Regions from separate parts of the Homo sapiens genome. Here region 2 is linked to region 1. Evidence: promoter capture Hi-C in 16 types of primary human blood cells and fetal thymus (Javierre and others, 2016). All regions are on one chromosome and are shown on one strand. Each heading gives the region's core, a stretch centred on a gene start or on the middle of the fragment in contact. The rest is flanking DNA. Distances are from core to core; before and after follow the strand shown. Region 1 holds the start of PGRMC1 (progesterone receptor membrane component 1). Region 2 holds the start of LONRF3 (LON peptidase N-terminal domain and ring finger 3).

Evidence for each region. The method cuts DNA at HindIII sites, captures the fragments that hold promoters and counts their contacts. A CHiCAGO score of 5 or more calls a contact.
Region 2: a contact is called between the fragment with the promoter of LONRF3 here and the fragment with the promoter of PGRMC1 in region 1, in 11 of 17 cell types (monocytes, activated CD4 T cells, non-activated CD4 T cells and 8 more). The highest score is 13.5, in monocytes.

The regions. Positions count from the first base shown.
Region 1 is chrX:119,232,379-119,239,736 of GRCh38, forward strand. PGRMC1 (progesterone receptor membrane component 1) reads left to right here and starts at 3,907. Exons shown (of 3, transcript NM_006667.5): 1 at 3,907-4,313. The coding sequence starts at 3,986. It also overlaps the pseudogene NUDT19P6. RefSeq lists silencers at 3,630-3,679, 3,710-3,969, 4,370-4,519. The HindIII fragment of the contact is 8,490 bases long and covers 1-4,888 here.
Region 2 is chrX:118,968,771-118,976,128 of GRCh38, forward strand. It overlaps LONRF3 (LON peptidase N-terminal domain and ring finger 3), which reads left to right and starts at 5,848. Exons shown (of 11, transcript NM_001031855.3): 1 at 5,848-6,827. The coding sequence starts at 6,011. The HindIII fragment of the contact is 6,269 bases long and covers 1,895-7,358 here.

The sequences.
Region 1 (7,358 bases), core at 2,657-5,156:
CCAACACCAAGTATTACCATTCTTAAAAAGCTCCAAGAAACAAGAGAAAAAAGAACACTCCAGTCATTTGAATGATGAGAAATGGTGCATTGTTTTTATGTTCCTTTGGATTTATTTGCTTCCTTACTAGGCTGAATTATTTCCCAAACATTTTCTAGCTAATCAGCCAATTGTTCTATTTTTCTCTGAAAGCTCTTTAAAACCTTTGAAAATAATTAAAAGGAGACAGAAAGTTTGAAAACACTAAAAGACTTAACATGTATCTTGGGAAATAAGTAGTCCTTGGGTCAAGTACATCGGCTTTAGGAATTGACTTGGAGCCAAAGAGCATATTAAGGCAACTCTCATGTTCTGAAGGGGGCTTTTTATTCAGGAGCACTCTTGCTTATTTCCAGATAACTTGAGAACTGCCACCCTGGAGGAGACCATTCCACTCAGCATTGATTCTGACATGAGCCTGAATGATGGGATGCTTTTCTTCAACAATCTCTACATCCCAGTGTTAGCTAATAGCCCACTTTATTGAACATCAAATCTGGTTTGCAAGCATTTATATTTTTAAACTGTATCACTTCTTGAGGTCTTAAGTTGCACAAGTTTTCTACCCTCCTTGTGAAGCAGGACTTCCTTTAATCCATTATCCTCCAAGGGGACACAGAGGTGTAGCAGAAGAGACACTGGACTACGATAAATGAGAATTATTAATCCTCCCCATCCCTCCATGAAAACACTTTCCCCAGATTTAATAGCGGTTACCTTTGAGGAAAGAGAATCAAGAGTGAGGAGAGGGACTTCAGTTGTCTTCTATATCTTCCCATAGTTTGAATTTTCTAACTTTAGACAAATATTACTTTGAAAAAACATTCCAGCAGGGGTTATCTGGGTGGGGAGCTAATGGCTTGGTTTTTGTTTTGTTTTTTTACTCTGTGTCTCTCTTTATTGGAAAAAAATGATAAAACTTTTATTATATAAAATTTCCCCCAGTTTTATAAAACAAAATGTGTGTGTGTGTGTGTGTGTGTGTGTGTGTGTGTGTGTATGTTGCATGTCTGCAAGAATATAAGCCAAACTGCTAATGTATGGGCCTGATTTAAGTACTGTTTGGGGAACTTGGAGAGGGAGAAAGGAGTTTCATTTTTTACTTTATACACTCACGTATTGTTTAAGTTTGTTATAGTGAACATGTATTATCATTCTACATTTTTTTTCAGAAAATAAATAATAAACCATTTTCCCCCCTGAGGTTAAAAGTGACACATGCCCATTGTGGAAAATGTAGAAAGGTATAAGGAAGAAACTAACAATCACAACAGTTAACATTTTAGCATATTTCTTTCCACGCTTTGTTTTATGAATTTTTTGACATAGTTGAGTTCATACTGTATATAGTTTTGTATCCTGTTTTTCCCTCAAGATTAAAACACAAGCGTTTTGCCATGTCATGATTTTTGGTAAAAGAATTTACCAAAACAGTTTTAGTTAAAAGAAGGTAGATTTATTAGATAAAGTAGGAAAATATGTTGTCAGAGAGACAAAGGGCAGCCTGCAAGAGAGAAGCCAACTGCCAGGAGACAAAGGCTTGCTGGAAATTTTATAGGATGGCGTTTATGCTGTCTGTTGAAGAGGTCTTTGTGTAATATTGATAATGCCAAGGTCGCAATGAGCTAACTTACAGGTGTCTGGTGATAGCTGGGCATGGGAAGATTGTGAATTATTTGCGCAGGAAGGCTGCATCTTGGTCATGAAGAAAGGGAGATTTGTAGCTTATTTGCTTTTTCTTTTTGCTATTTCATGCTCCCACCAGCCTGATTCCCTTTCCCTAATTAGGACTCCAGAATGATGATATTTGAATGGCCTTTTAATGGTTTTGTCACAATTCAAGTGAATTAATTCGCCATTTTATTTGAAGTCGGACATTTAGGTTGTTTCCAGTTTTTCTGTATTAAAAATGAATCTCTGCTGAGCATCTTAGTAATGAAATATTTGTCTGCGTTTCTGTCTCCTTGGGATGGATTCCTGAAAATGGAATTACTAGGTCAAAGAGCAGATTTCTAGAAGTGGGATTAATGGATAGAAAATATTTTTATGGATAATAAAAGGTTATACCCAACAGCGTATGTGAGTCTCACCACTCTCTCGCCAATAGTGTGTTATCCTTTTTTTTTTCCCTTTTATCTTTCCTGTAGAAAAGTAGTAGGTGACAGCGGCATCTCCATGCTTTTCTTTTTGTTACTAATGAGACTGAACATTTTTCATATGCTTATTCACCACTGGCATGCTCTCTTTTGTGAACTACCTGTTCCTATTTTTTCCCATTTATTGACTAGAATCTTATACATTTTCTTATCAATCCAAATGATCTCTCAAATAAATATTAACCCTTTGTCATATTAGTTGCAAATGAAAATATTTTATAAGTTTATTAGCTTTCTAAATTTTCTTGGCCATACATGTTAAAAGAGATAGATTCTAACTATAGACAAGTGCCCTCAGTTTGAGCCTGTTTCTCCATGATTAAATTGAAGAGTTTTGACAAAAGATTTGGAGGGGCTGTTTCAGCTAATCCCAAATTTAGCTCTGAGAAAAATGCCTGGGCCCGATACAAAGATTGTTTGGCTCATTGCACTTTATAATGATTTAAGAAGATGTGGGGGGCAGGGATGGAAGCAGTTTTTGCCAGAAATTTTTAGAATTCTGAGGTAGGAAGCCAATCTTTACTCAAGTCTCTTGCGTGTTGGGAGGAGGAGTAAGTTATGTGCAAGCCAACAGAACACTTGGTGGAAAAGTACTGCTCTGGGCTGCAGATGTGTGCACGGCTTGGTTTTAATTATTTGTTTCCCTCTCTATCCTTTCTTCTCCTCCCCTCCCCCCGCCACCAGAAAAAGGGCCAGATTAGGACGAGGCAACCCCTTCCTCCGTGGAGGTCTGCTTCTGTGCAGCCTGTTAGCACATCAAAGGCCGGATGAAATACCTAGGAAAGGAAGGGACCAGGCCTAGGATCCTTCCAAACTCCCGCCTTTGTCTGGGCTCCAGCTCAGGGTTATTGTGACTGCCAAGGGTAGCCTGACAGACTCCAAATAGAAGAACGCTGCCAAACAAAGAAACTTTCACATTATTCTGAGGGGGGAAAAAAGAGCAACAAGAGAACGTTGCTTGTTAATGCCTGGTGACTGAGCAAATCAGTAATTGCAAAAGGGTTTTTCGGAGAACAAACCCAAAGTTAACTGGGCGATCAGATTCGTTTCCCCAGATAATAGGGAGAGTTGTGCACTGACTTTAGCAATCCCGGGGGTGTCGGTCCCACAGCATCTGGGGGAGAATTGGGGAAGGGCCATCAAGGAGAGCGAATGGGGGTTCCCAAGGTGAAAATGAGTCGTGTAGGGCTCTAACATAGAAAATGGAGTTCGAAGAATGAGTTTCCTGTCTCCTAAGACAGCTTGGAGGGCCCGGGAACGGCAGGGGGAAGATGAGGGGCTTCAGAATGGGAGGCAGGGAAAAGCCTGCAGCAACAGAAAGGGAGTCGGTGTCTGGCGCGCATCAGGTGGCGGAGGGGCGCTCGCACAGAGCCCGGCAATGCCGAGGCCCTCCCAACGGGTCGGTCTGCGAGGAGCAAAAAAGGGGTTCAGAGGAGGGCAGCGCGTGCGTCGCGCTCAGCTATAGGATGGCGCGAGGATGGCGTGAGGCTGGGCTGGGGCCTCCCAGGTAGAACTGAGGGGGGCACCGCGCGGCCGCGGGGGAGCGGCGCCGGACTCTAGAGGCTTTGGAGGGGGCCTGAGGGCTGCGGGGCGGGACCGAGCAGGGCGGGGCGCTTAGGTGGCCTCGGGGGAGGCGGGGCTTGGAGGCTCCGCCCCTCAGGCCCCGCCTCCTCCCCGGCTAGTCTTTGGCCGCCGCCGAACCCCGCGCGCCACTCGCTCGCTCAGAGGGAGGAGAAAGTGGCGAGTTCCGGATCCCTGCCTAGCGCGGCCCAACCTTTACTCCAGAGATCATGGCTGCCGAGGATGTGGTGGCGACTGGCGCCGACCCAAGCGATCTGGAGAGCGGCGGGCTGCTGCATGAGATTTTCACGTCGCCGCTCAACCTGCTGCTGCTTGGCCTCTGCATCTTCCTGCTCTACAAGATCGTGCGCGGGGACCAGCCGGCGGCCAGCGGCGACAGCGACGACGACGAGCCGCCCCCTCTGCCCCGCCTCAAGCGGCGCGACTTCACCCCCGCCGAGCTGCGGCGCTTCGACGGCGTCCAGGACCCGCGCATACTCATGGCCATCAACGGCAAGGTGTTCGATGTGACCAAAGGCCGCAAATTCTACGGGCCCGGTACGCGGCCGGCGAGGGGGGCTTGGAGACAAAAGAAGGGGGCCCCGGCACGGGGCTGGGCGGGAGAGAGGCGAGGCGGGAGCGGGGCGCCCCTGAGTGGAGGGAGGAATGGCGGCGAGCTAGGGTAGGCGGGTAGGCGGGCAGGCGGAGAGCCGGGAGGCTCCCGGGGCGGGCAGGGAACAAGAGGCGCTCTAGAGGGGCTGCGGGCCAGTCAGGGACGCGGATCCCCGGCCCGCGCTGACAGCGCTGGGAGGGGGTTAGAGAAAGAAGGCTGAGGCGCTTAAGCCGGGGGTGGGTGGGACCACGAAGCTCGAAGGCGTTGAGGGGGGACACATCAAAGCCCAGGCTGTTGGGGTAGTTTTCGAAGGTCCTGGGCTTGGGGATTCCTGGAAGGAGGAGGGGGTAGTGTCGGGTTCTAGGAAGGAAATGAGGGTGTTCCGAGGGAGGCATGGGGGAGGGCGAGAGTGAGAAAAGGTCCAGACCTAGAGAAGACGGGAAGGCCAATGACACCGGGAGTAGGTTTGAAATATGAGGGTGTGGGAGAAAACGCCGAGACGGGATTAGCAGCAGGTAAAAGCTTTGTGCCCGGTGGATAGTGATGTGTGTGTGCACTCGTGGTGTGTGCATGCGCGGTGTGTGCGTGTTTAGTGTATGTGATTTATCAGGGGTGTGTGTGTGTGGTGTGTGCATGCGCGCTTGAAATGGGTCATGCGTCAGGTATGTGTGTGGCATGTGTTTGGTCTGTGTGCGCTTGTGCTGTGTGTGGCAGATGGGGAAAGGCTGGAAGGTGAACAAGGAGGAAGGGGGCTGTTTGAGGGAGGAATAAAGGCTGAATATGGTGGACAATGGTAACGTGGCAAGCTTTTAAGGTAATATGGTATTTAGTCTATAGCAGGAGAGAAAGGATTAGAAGCCAAGAAAAATTAAAATGGAGGGAGGGAGAAGTGGGAGGATACCAAGAAACAAAAGGAGTAGAGCTAAGAAGACTGCTGGGTGGGGGGATATCAGGAAAAGCCAACCAGAGGGAAATGAAGAATGGATGACTGCTGCACTGCTGAGCTGTTGGAGAAGGCAGGCCTGATGGGTTCCTTAGAGGCGAGGTTTTTGCAAACCTGGTTGCGTATCAGAATCACCTGATGCATCTGAGGAAAAATACAGATTCCCAGTCTAACCGCCAGAGCTGCAAATGAGTCTCGGGTGGTCCGGGAGTCTGTATTTTAATATGCTTCCCAGGCGAATTTGAAAAGCAGCCAGGCTTGCAAAGTCCTGCTTTATAGAATACTTGGAGATGAGGAAGAAGAGGTTTTGGCTCCTCCAATATGGACTCCTCTAAACACAGGGAGCTTAGAGGATGTCCACATGGACGGTGCTCATTCCACACTGGCCTGAGAGAGGGAAGAGTACAGAAGGCAGTACACAAACTCAGGCATTCATTTTAGTCTCCCAGTCCAACTGATCAAAATCAGATGTGTTAAGGTTAAGGAGCTCAGTTTTTTCTTGCAGACATTTATTTATTATAAAAAATAAATTTTATTTATTTTTTAGAGACAGGGTCTCCCTCCTGTGTTGCCCAGGCTGGTCTCGAACTCCTGGGCGCAAGCAGTCCTTCCACCTCCATTTCCCAAAGTGCTGGGATTACAGGCATGAGCCACTGCACCGGGCCTGTGGATATTTTAGAATACCTGCTTTCTATAGGCATGTAACTGTCAAAATCATTTGAAAACCACATACATTATTTGTCACTTAGAGTAGCACACATAGTTGCTTTATCAATAAACATAATCATGTAAATACCTGTTAATATTGAGCTCAATATTAAAGGAGTGAAAACATGTGCATGAGGCATCATCATGACTGTAGTTTGCAGAGTCATTGAGAGGATGTCAGCCTGTGCACAGAGCACAAAACTGGGAGTCAGGCAACCTGCGTTCTAGTCCTGATTGGGTCATGACTAGCTGTGTGACCTTGTGCAAAGCATTGTTCTCTCAGAGCCTTAGTTTTCCCTCTGAAAAGTGATAAAGATGGCCTATTGTGAGATCTCTGTCTCTATCTTGCACTGTCATTCAGTGAGCCCATGACTACGTGACATCTTGGTAGAAAGTGATGCTTCATGTTGTAAAGGATTCCTAAAAATTAGTCATTCTAGTGCCTGTTAATTCTGTGCAAGGCACTGTTGTAGATGTGGGAATATAGCAGTGAGCAAAACAGACACAAATCTCTGCCTATGGAGCTTACGTTCTAGTGAATATATGTTGCACTGAATAATATGTATTTTTAAAAGACTTTTAATGTTCCCACTAGAGAACATTTAATTGTTTAAATGTTTAAATATTCTATGAGGTTTAAATATTCTATGTTTAAATATTCTATGAGGTTTGCTTGGTAAAGACTCACTCTACCAAGCCAATGACCATAATTTCTGAAATGGTAAGGTTCAAACCATTGCATTTGCCTATTCTCAAGCACTAGGTGCTGCCATTTCCACTAGGGGTGTACATTTATGAAAAATGTGGGCTTTTTTTTACCTTCTTTAGTGAATGTGGCAGCATGTAATGATGATTAAAAATAAGCATTTTTCTTTGGAATTTTACTTGCATTTAAAAGTTGTAAAATTTGTAAAAAATTTCTGAGTGTATTGAGGTTTCAGGTGAACAGGCCATATTGAAACTTGATCTATTCTCATACTTGGTTCCCTACAAACATTTTAATGTCAGGGCTGCTATTCAATCTGCCTTGGGGGAAACAACACATTGTTTAAAGTACACTGGATTCTCTTCATTTAGTTGTGCAATATTTAAATAAGTCTAAATATCCACTTTGTGTACCCACAGAATGATTCTCTGCTCTCTTAGACAAAAGTTCAGTATAATATCACAAATAATCACATTTTATAGAGTTGTTTTATAGAGTTGTTTTGCAGTATTGATTCAGCCTCTTTTCCATGAAAATTTTAGTATTTTCACAGTCTTCTCAAGCCCACCAAAAAACAGATAATGAAGACTGATCTCTGTGTTATCTATTTATTGACAGTGAAGGTTATGTAAT
Region 2 (7,358 bases), core at 4,598-7,097, 260 kb before region 1:
AGGCGGATGGATCACCTGAGGTCAGGAGTTTGAGACCAGCCTGGCCAACATGGCAAAACCTCGTCTCTACTAAAAATACAAAAATTAGCCGGGTGTGGTGGTGCATGCCTGTAATCCCAGCTACTCGGGAGGCTGAGGCAGGAGAATCGCTTGAACCTGGGACACAGAGGTTGCAGTGAGCTGAGATCCTGTCACTGCACTTGACCAGTCCAGCTTACTTGGAATTCTCTTTTTCCTGGGCCACCTATCCCCCAATATAAAGGAAGTCCCCTGGTATTGAGCCGCAGGATGGTCTCACTTCTCTATTTAAATCCTCTCCAACCTAGCTTAAAAGCACCTTTTCCATGAGACTGCATTGCAGTCTGTCCCCTTTGAGGGCTTCCGTGGACACACTGTTCCCTTAATTTTGGCACTTCTTACAGACTGCCTGTTATTTTTTAAATCTTTGTCTCTTGTTTCCTCAGTTAGCTACTAGAGGATAAGGACTGTGTCACATCCTATTATTGCCCTACAAATGCCAACTCCATTAGCACATAGTATATGCTCGATAAATATTTGCTGAACTGATGAAAATCTTGTAGGTGGGAAATCTGAAATAATTTCTTACAATAAGTAATAAGAAGGAGATACGGGAGTTCGAAACCAGCCTGACCAGCATGGAGAAATCTTGTCTCTACTAAAATAATACAAAATCAGCTGGGCGCGGTGGCACATGCTTGTAATCCCAGCTACTCAGGAGGCTGAGGCAGGAGAATCACTTGAATCCAGTAGGCGCAGTTTGCAGTGAGCCAAGATCACGACATTGCACTCCAGCCTGAGCAACAGGAGCGAAACTCTGTCTCAAAAAAAAAAAAAAAGAAGGAGATGTTCTGTGCTCTTTAGCTTTCTGATCATATGAAAAAAAAAATTTTATAAACAAAGAGATATGAGCCCTAGCTTCCAATTTGGCTGTATCAAATTCATTATGACCTGTGGCAAGTCACTTGCCTTCTCTAGTGTTCAGTGGCCTCATTTGTGAAACCAGAGCTGATGTGTAAGCTAACTTTCCTTCCTTCCTTCCTTCCTTTTCTTTCCTTTTTTTTTTTTTTTTTTTTTTTTTGAAACAGAGTCTTGCTTTGTCGCCCAGGCTGGAGTGCAATGGTGCGATCTTGGCTCACTGTAACCTCCACTTCCTGGGTTCAAGCAATTCTCCTGCCTGAGACTCCTCAGTAGCTGGGATTACAGGCACGCGCCACCACTCCCGCTAATTTATTTTTTTAATTCTTAGTAGAGATGGGGGTTCACCATGTTGGTCAGGTTGGTCCTGAACTCCTGGCCTCAAGTGATCCACCCACCTCGGCCTCCCAAAGTTCTGGGATTACAGGCGTGAGCCACCATGCCCGGCTAAACTTTCTTTTAGTTGTGGGTTTTGGCTACTCTGTATAGCAAGGAGCGGTCTTGCTTTCCATATCAATACCATTAATGTCCATGGTTCCTTTTTTTCCCCCTGTAAGGACTGCAGATTTATGGGTCACCCCAGTTTATAAAATGAGAATATCAGATACAGAACAAATGTGTGCTTTGGCCAAGCTTCCAGGCATAGAGTGTGTGCATGTGTATGTGTGTGCGGGGTTGCTTACACCTTACTACAGGTCTCTGGCTTCGAATGGACTCTTTCGTCCCAGAGTTGCTCAGCAGGCCTTTCCAAGTACAGGACTGTCAACCATTTGTTGTTTGTGTGCCCAGTCTCTGCTTTGTGAATGACCACAGTGCATGGCATTCCAACTGTTTCCTCTTGTCCCTCTGCACACTCCTAGGGCCAGAATGTCCACTGGCATGTTCAGTAAGATCTGTTCAAGCACTGTCCTGCTTATGTCACTGGAGGAGATATAAGACACCAGTCCTTGCCCTCTGAAGCTTCTAGCCTACATGGGAAGCCAGTACAAGGATGTGTGTATGTGGGGAAAGATGCACTATCATAAGTGAGGGAGAGCCTGGGAGTTATGTGCTGCTTTTTTTTTTTTTTTTTTTTGACAGAGTCTCTCACTCTGTCGCCCAGACTGGAGTGCAGTGGCGTGATCTTGGCTCACTGCAACCTCTGCTTCCTGGCTTCAAACCGTTCTCCTGCCTCAGACTTCCAAGTAGCTGGGATTACAGGCGTGCACCATGATGCCCTGCTATTTTTTTTTTTTTTTTGTATTTTTAGTAGAGACGGGGTTTCGCCGTGATCAACCCACCTCAGCCTCCCTAGGTGCTGGGATTACAGGCATGAGCCATCACACCCGGCTGCTGCTTTGATGTGTCTCCAGTATCTAGAACAGTCCTTGGTATGTGGAAGATGCCCAACAAATATATGAAAATGTGTGAAAATTGCTATGGTTTTCAAACTTGATATTGTAAGGGACAGCTTTTCTTCAAAGAAATCATACCTGGAGGCTCAGTTATGTGAAACAGATGGATACAATACTGCCCTGCTTGAGGGGAGCTAGGGTCAAAGCCTGTCTGCTTGTCTCCTCTGAGCCCCAAAGAGATTCTTGAGAGTCCAGTTGGAAAACTACTAGTTGAAAATGAGGGGCAGCTCAATCCTTGCTCTCTCTTCTTGGTTAACCTTAGCCACAAGGTGATCCTAGCAAAATAAATGGAGGTTTAAAGAACCTTACACTCCAAAGGGAATATTTGCACCTGAAAAAGATGGTGTTAATCTCCCCCTTCCCCTCATTCCAGGGGGGCTCCAATTAGTAAGAGCAGAGGGAAGGAAATTCTGAGTAGGAGACTTCTGAATTGGTTCAACAATGTCTATCAATGTAATGGTAATATTTGTTTAACTTAAACAAACAAAGAAAGAAAACCACTGTGATAATGTTTTTCAGCATTCAATAGAAACCCACTTGGTGTTGTCCTACAGGCAGTCTTGATTACAATGTAAAACTCCCTGTGGAGTCTGGTCAGTGAGTAGCTGGTACTGCCATTTACACCAGAGTACCTCGCATTATCCAGACTGCTATTCACATTCCTGACCAAGTTCACGGTCAACCTCCTGCACTGGCAGCCAAGAGGGCCTGCCTGGAGAGAGCTTCTCTTCTCCATGCCTGCAGGACTGTGACTCTCTACCTGACCTGGCCCTCTCTTAGCCTTCCTACCATAACAGGGCAAGGGAGGGGAATCAACCCAGGGGATATTCCCTTGTCAAGGTCATCCACGGAGCAAAGCACATCCCAGATTTGCATCTAGGAAACAATTTTGGGTAACAGACATATATATATATATTTTAGATATGTCAAAGGGGTAAAGCTCTTGAATTAAGATGGTTTCATCATTATCTATCTCATGAATCTCTACCTTCCCCAACGACTGTCCTTCCTCACAGATGCCTGAAGGGGCAGGCAGATAATTAGTGCTGGGGACCTCATTTGATAGTAGGGGAAACTGAGAGGTGAAAAGAGCTCCCTTCAGTTAGATAGCAACTCACCAGGAACTCCAGTTTCTCCCCTACTGCTTGGTATGGCCACCTCCTCCACCTCTTAGCCAGTCCTCCGACTTCTACATCTTAAAAATCTAGCTCAGGGGCCAGGCGCGGTGGCTCACACCTGTAATTCCAGCACTTTGGGAGGCTGAGGCGGGCGGATCACCTGAGGTCAGGAGTTCGAGACCAGCCTGACCAACATGGAGAAACCCCGTCTCTACTAAAAATACAAAAAAATTAGCCAGCTGTGGTGGCACGTGCCTGTAATCCCAGCTACTTGGGAGGCTGAGGCAGGAGAATCACTTGAACCTGGGAGGCGGAGGTTGTGGTGAGCTGAGATCGTTCCATTGCACTCCAGCCTGGGCAACAATAGCCAAACTCCATCTCAAAAAAAAAAAAAAAATCTAGCTCAGGTCTGACCCCGACTAAATGGACAATCTTCCATTGATTTCCCATCCCCTCAACCCCGGTTCAAGCCACCATCCACAGCATTTGGACTAGTCATTTGTACTTAAGTAACTGAGTTAGTATCATGAAATTTGGTCTTAGGATCAAAGCCACTCAAGGTTAGAGCTGGAGGGAACCTTGGAGATTAAGAGAAACTAAGGTTTGGAGAACCTACCTAAGGTTTCATAGCAAATATGTGACAAATCCAAGGCTTCAAGCCAAGTTTTCCAATGTGTCCCTCGTGCTTTCCTGACTACATCTGGAGTTTCTCTATTTCTTCTTCTCCTTCTCCTTCTTCTTCATTTTTTTTTTTTTTCGTGTGTGTGTCTTTTTTCCCCTATGTGATGCTTCCTTTCTGCCCTGTGACCCTCTCCCTCTGTCCTGTCTTATTAGAAAGAGGCTCTAGAGCTGGCTGCATAGTACCTGTTCTCTGGGACCTTGGTGTTGATCTAAGACTGGTTTAACTACCTAAAGAGAAGCAGAGACCCGAGGGGGCCTGCCATAACCCAACTCTGAAACATGACTTAATCCCAAGTAAGATCAGCTCTAACATTTGTTCAGAAGCAAAAATGATGGATTCTAAAGTTTGACTTCCCCAAGGTCATCTGGCTAAGAGGTGGCTGCAGCAGGGGGCAACAATAGGTCTTCAGGCCCCTGGGGCGGCAACCTGGCACTGCCCAAGAGCCCGCAGGCTCTGAAGGCCAACTGAGCCAGCGGCAAGCCTAGTCCCTGCCTCCCTGCTTGGAGCAGTGCGACTATACCGTTTTCTGTCTGCTCATTTGTGAGCTTGGTTCCCGTCCTAAATGTGGGGGTTCAAGGCAGACAAAGAGTGTGCAGTTGGCCACCCCGCTCGCCTTCAGGAAGTGTGTAGGACACCGTCGAGGCCCCCTAGCCATTGTAAACCAGGCGCTGAGGCTCGTGCCCAGTTGTACCCTTCCCGCGCAGCGCTCAGGAGCGACAAACCTGGAGGCTATTCGGTCTGCCACTGGGCTGTGCCGGGATTCGCGGACTTTCTCCTGAATAGCGCTCTCAGCTCGCGTCTTCCCCCTGCCACTCTCCCACGCCCCCAGAGTACCCACCGACCCCAGCAGGCCGGGTACATCCCTGCCGCGCCCATCCGGCCAGTGGCTCCAGGGGCCGGCCTGGTGTGTCTCCAGCTGGGCGCCTACCGCCTGCCCCAGCGCTAGTTCTGGCGTTGGGGGTAGAGAGGTAAAGAGGGGAGTTAGCGGGGCATCTCCCTCCCAGGGCTGAGCCGGCAAGCGCATCTTCTCCGCGAGTTCCTCACTGTCCAGCGAGCGCTGCCCAACTTCTGCGCCGGTGGGACCCGCTGCTCTGAGTCACTCTTGGCACAGAACACCAAGCACCCTCAGAAACCGAATTCACCACCTTTGGGAGGCTCCTGGGAGAAGGCAAGGAACCCAGGCGGGGCTCCCAGGGCTCTCGGGCTGGGACTGGGTTGTGTGTGTGTGGGGGGGCTTCACGGATACCCCTCCCAACCTGCTTCCTTTCCCTGACAGCAGCCATCTCCCCCAAGAGGGAGAGTCTTAGGCGTCCCGGAAGACCCTGCGGACTGTGCACCTCGAGGTACCAGCCTCTCCTGGGAGGAGTGGGGGGCCGCTGGTCAGCGGCTGGCAGAGGGGACCTGTTTGCTGGCCCGTTTGGAGGTGGGATGGAGTGGGGTTTGGAGACTGAGAAGCCCAAGAGAAGACACTGAGTTTCTCCCCACCCCACAACCCCACTTCCGAAAAAGAACCAGGTGGTGAGGAGGAATAAGGCGAAGTGTAAACACAAACAACCTCAAAAAGAAGCCAAGAAAAGCGAAGCCCAAAGAAGCAAGAGCAACACTGTTACAAAACTGTCTGGTTTTGTAACAATTTCCCCGCCGCCGGCCAATGAACAGCGTGGCGGCACGTCACGTGGTACCGTTTTATATAACACTTTGCTGAGACAAGACAGTTATTAGGCGGCGCGGGGCGGCCGGCATGGAGCTCCCGGAGGCGCGGCAGGGTCAGGAGCTCGGTGGCATGGCGGCGGTGGCTGCCCCGATTTCCTCCAGCTGCCACTCCTTGCTTCGTGTCCCCGGTCCCTAGACGCCTCGTCTCCTCCCGTGTCCCTCTTCCCATGGAGTCAGTACGGATCGAACAGATGCTGAGCTTGCCCGCTGAGGTCAGCAGCGACAACTTGGAGTCGGCGGAGCGAGGGGCATCAGCGGCCCAAGTAGACATGGGCCCCCACCCAAAGGTGGCTGCAGAGGGCCCCGCACCTCTACCGACGCGGGAGCCAGAGCAAGAGCAGTCTCCGGGGACCTCAACGCCGGAGAGCAAAGTCCTGCTCACGCAGGCAGACGCCTTGGCGTCCCGGGGGCGAATCCGTGAAGCCCTCGAGGTGTATAGACAGCTCTCCGAGCGGCAGCAGCTGGTGGCTGAGCAGCTGGAGCAGCTGGTGCGCTGCCTGGCGGAGAAAGTCCCGCAAGGCGAGGCGCTGGCGCCGGCGCCCCCGGACGAGGGTAGCACTGCAAGCGGCACCGTGGCGGCGGAAGAGACGGGGGCCGCCGCGGCTGCGGCGGCCACCGAGGTGTGGGACGGCTTTAAGTGCCGGAAATGTCATGGGTTTCTATCAGACCCCGTGTCCTTGTCGTGTGGCCACACCTTTTGTAAACTGTGCCTGGAACGTGGGCGGGCCGCCGACCGGCGCTGTGCGCTGTGCGGGGTCAAGCTCTCCGCCTTGATGGTGGCCACTGGGCGGGCGCGTGGAGCCCGGCGGGCTGGGCAGCAGCCGCCGCCGCCGCTGCGAGTCAACGTGGTGCTCAGCGGCCTCCTCGGCAAGTTGTTTCCAGGCCCAGCGCGAGCGTCGCAACTCCGGCACGAGGGCAACCGACTGTACCGCGAGCGCCAGGTGGAGGCGGCACTGCTCAAGTACAACGAGGCAGTTAAGTTGGGTGAGTCCAACGCGCTGCCGGGCCGGGGCTGGGGCTCGGTGGCTACATGAGGGAGCGGGAGAACAAACCCCGCAGCGAGAAGGGATTTGGACCAGGGCAGAAGAGGGGGCGGGGGACCCATGGACTGTGGCGGGGTGGGGGAGGGGTGATTCTGGGGCTGGGTCTCTGAGTTTGTTCTGTTTTCACTGCTTATCTGTGTTTCACTGTGTTTGTGTTGATCTCGGTTGCTTTTTGTCTTTTCCTGCTACTTCTGTTAGCTTTTGTGTTCCTGTCTCTCAGTCCCCGTTCCTGTCTGTGTCTCCTTGCTTCTGGTTCTTTTTCTCCGTCTCTTCGTATCTTTGTCACTGTTTCTTTCTTTTTCGGTGTCACTGTCTCTGTTCCTCTGACTCTCCTTCTCCCGCTGCACTCCTGGTCTCCTCTTACACCTGCTCGCACCTTCCCAGCGAGGAGAGGAACTTCGCGCGCTCCTCGCACTTGCGCCCGGTCCTCTGGGCTGTAGCCAGCAGGAGATGTCCGGTCGGCGCCTGCGTC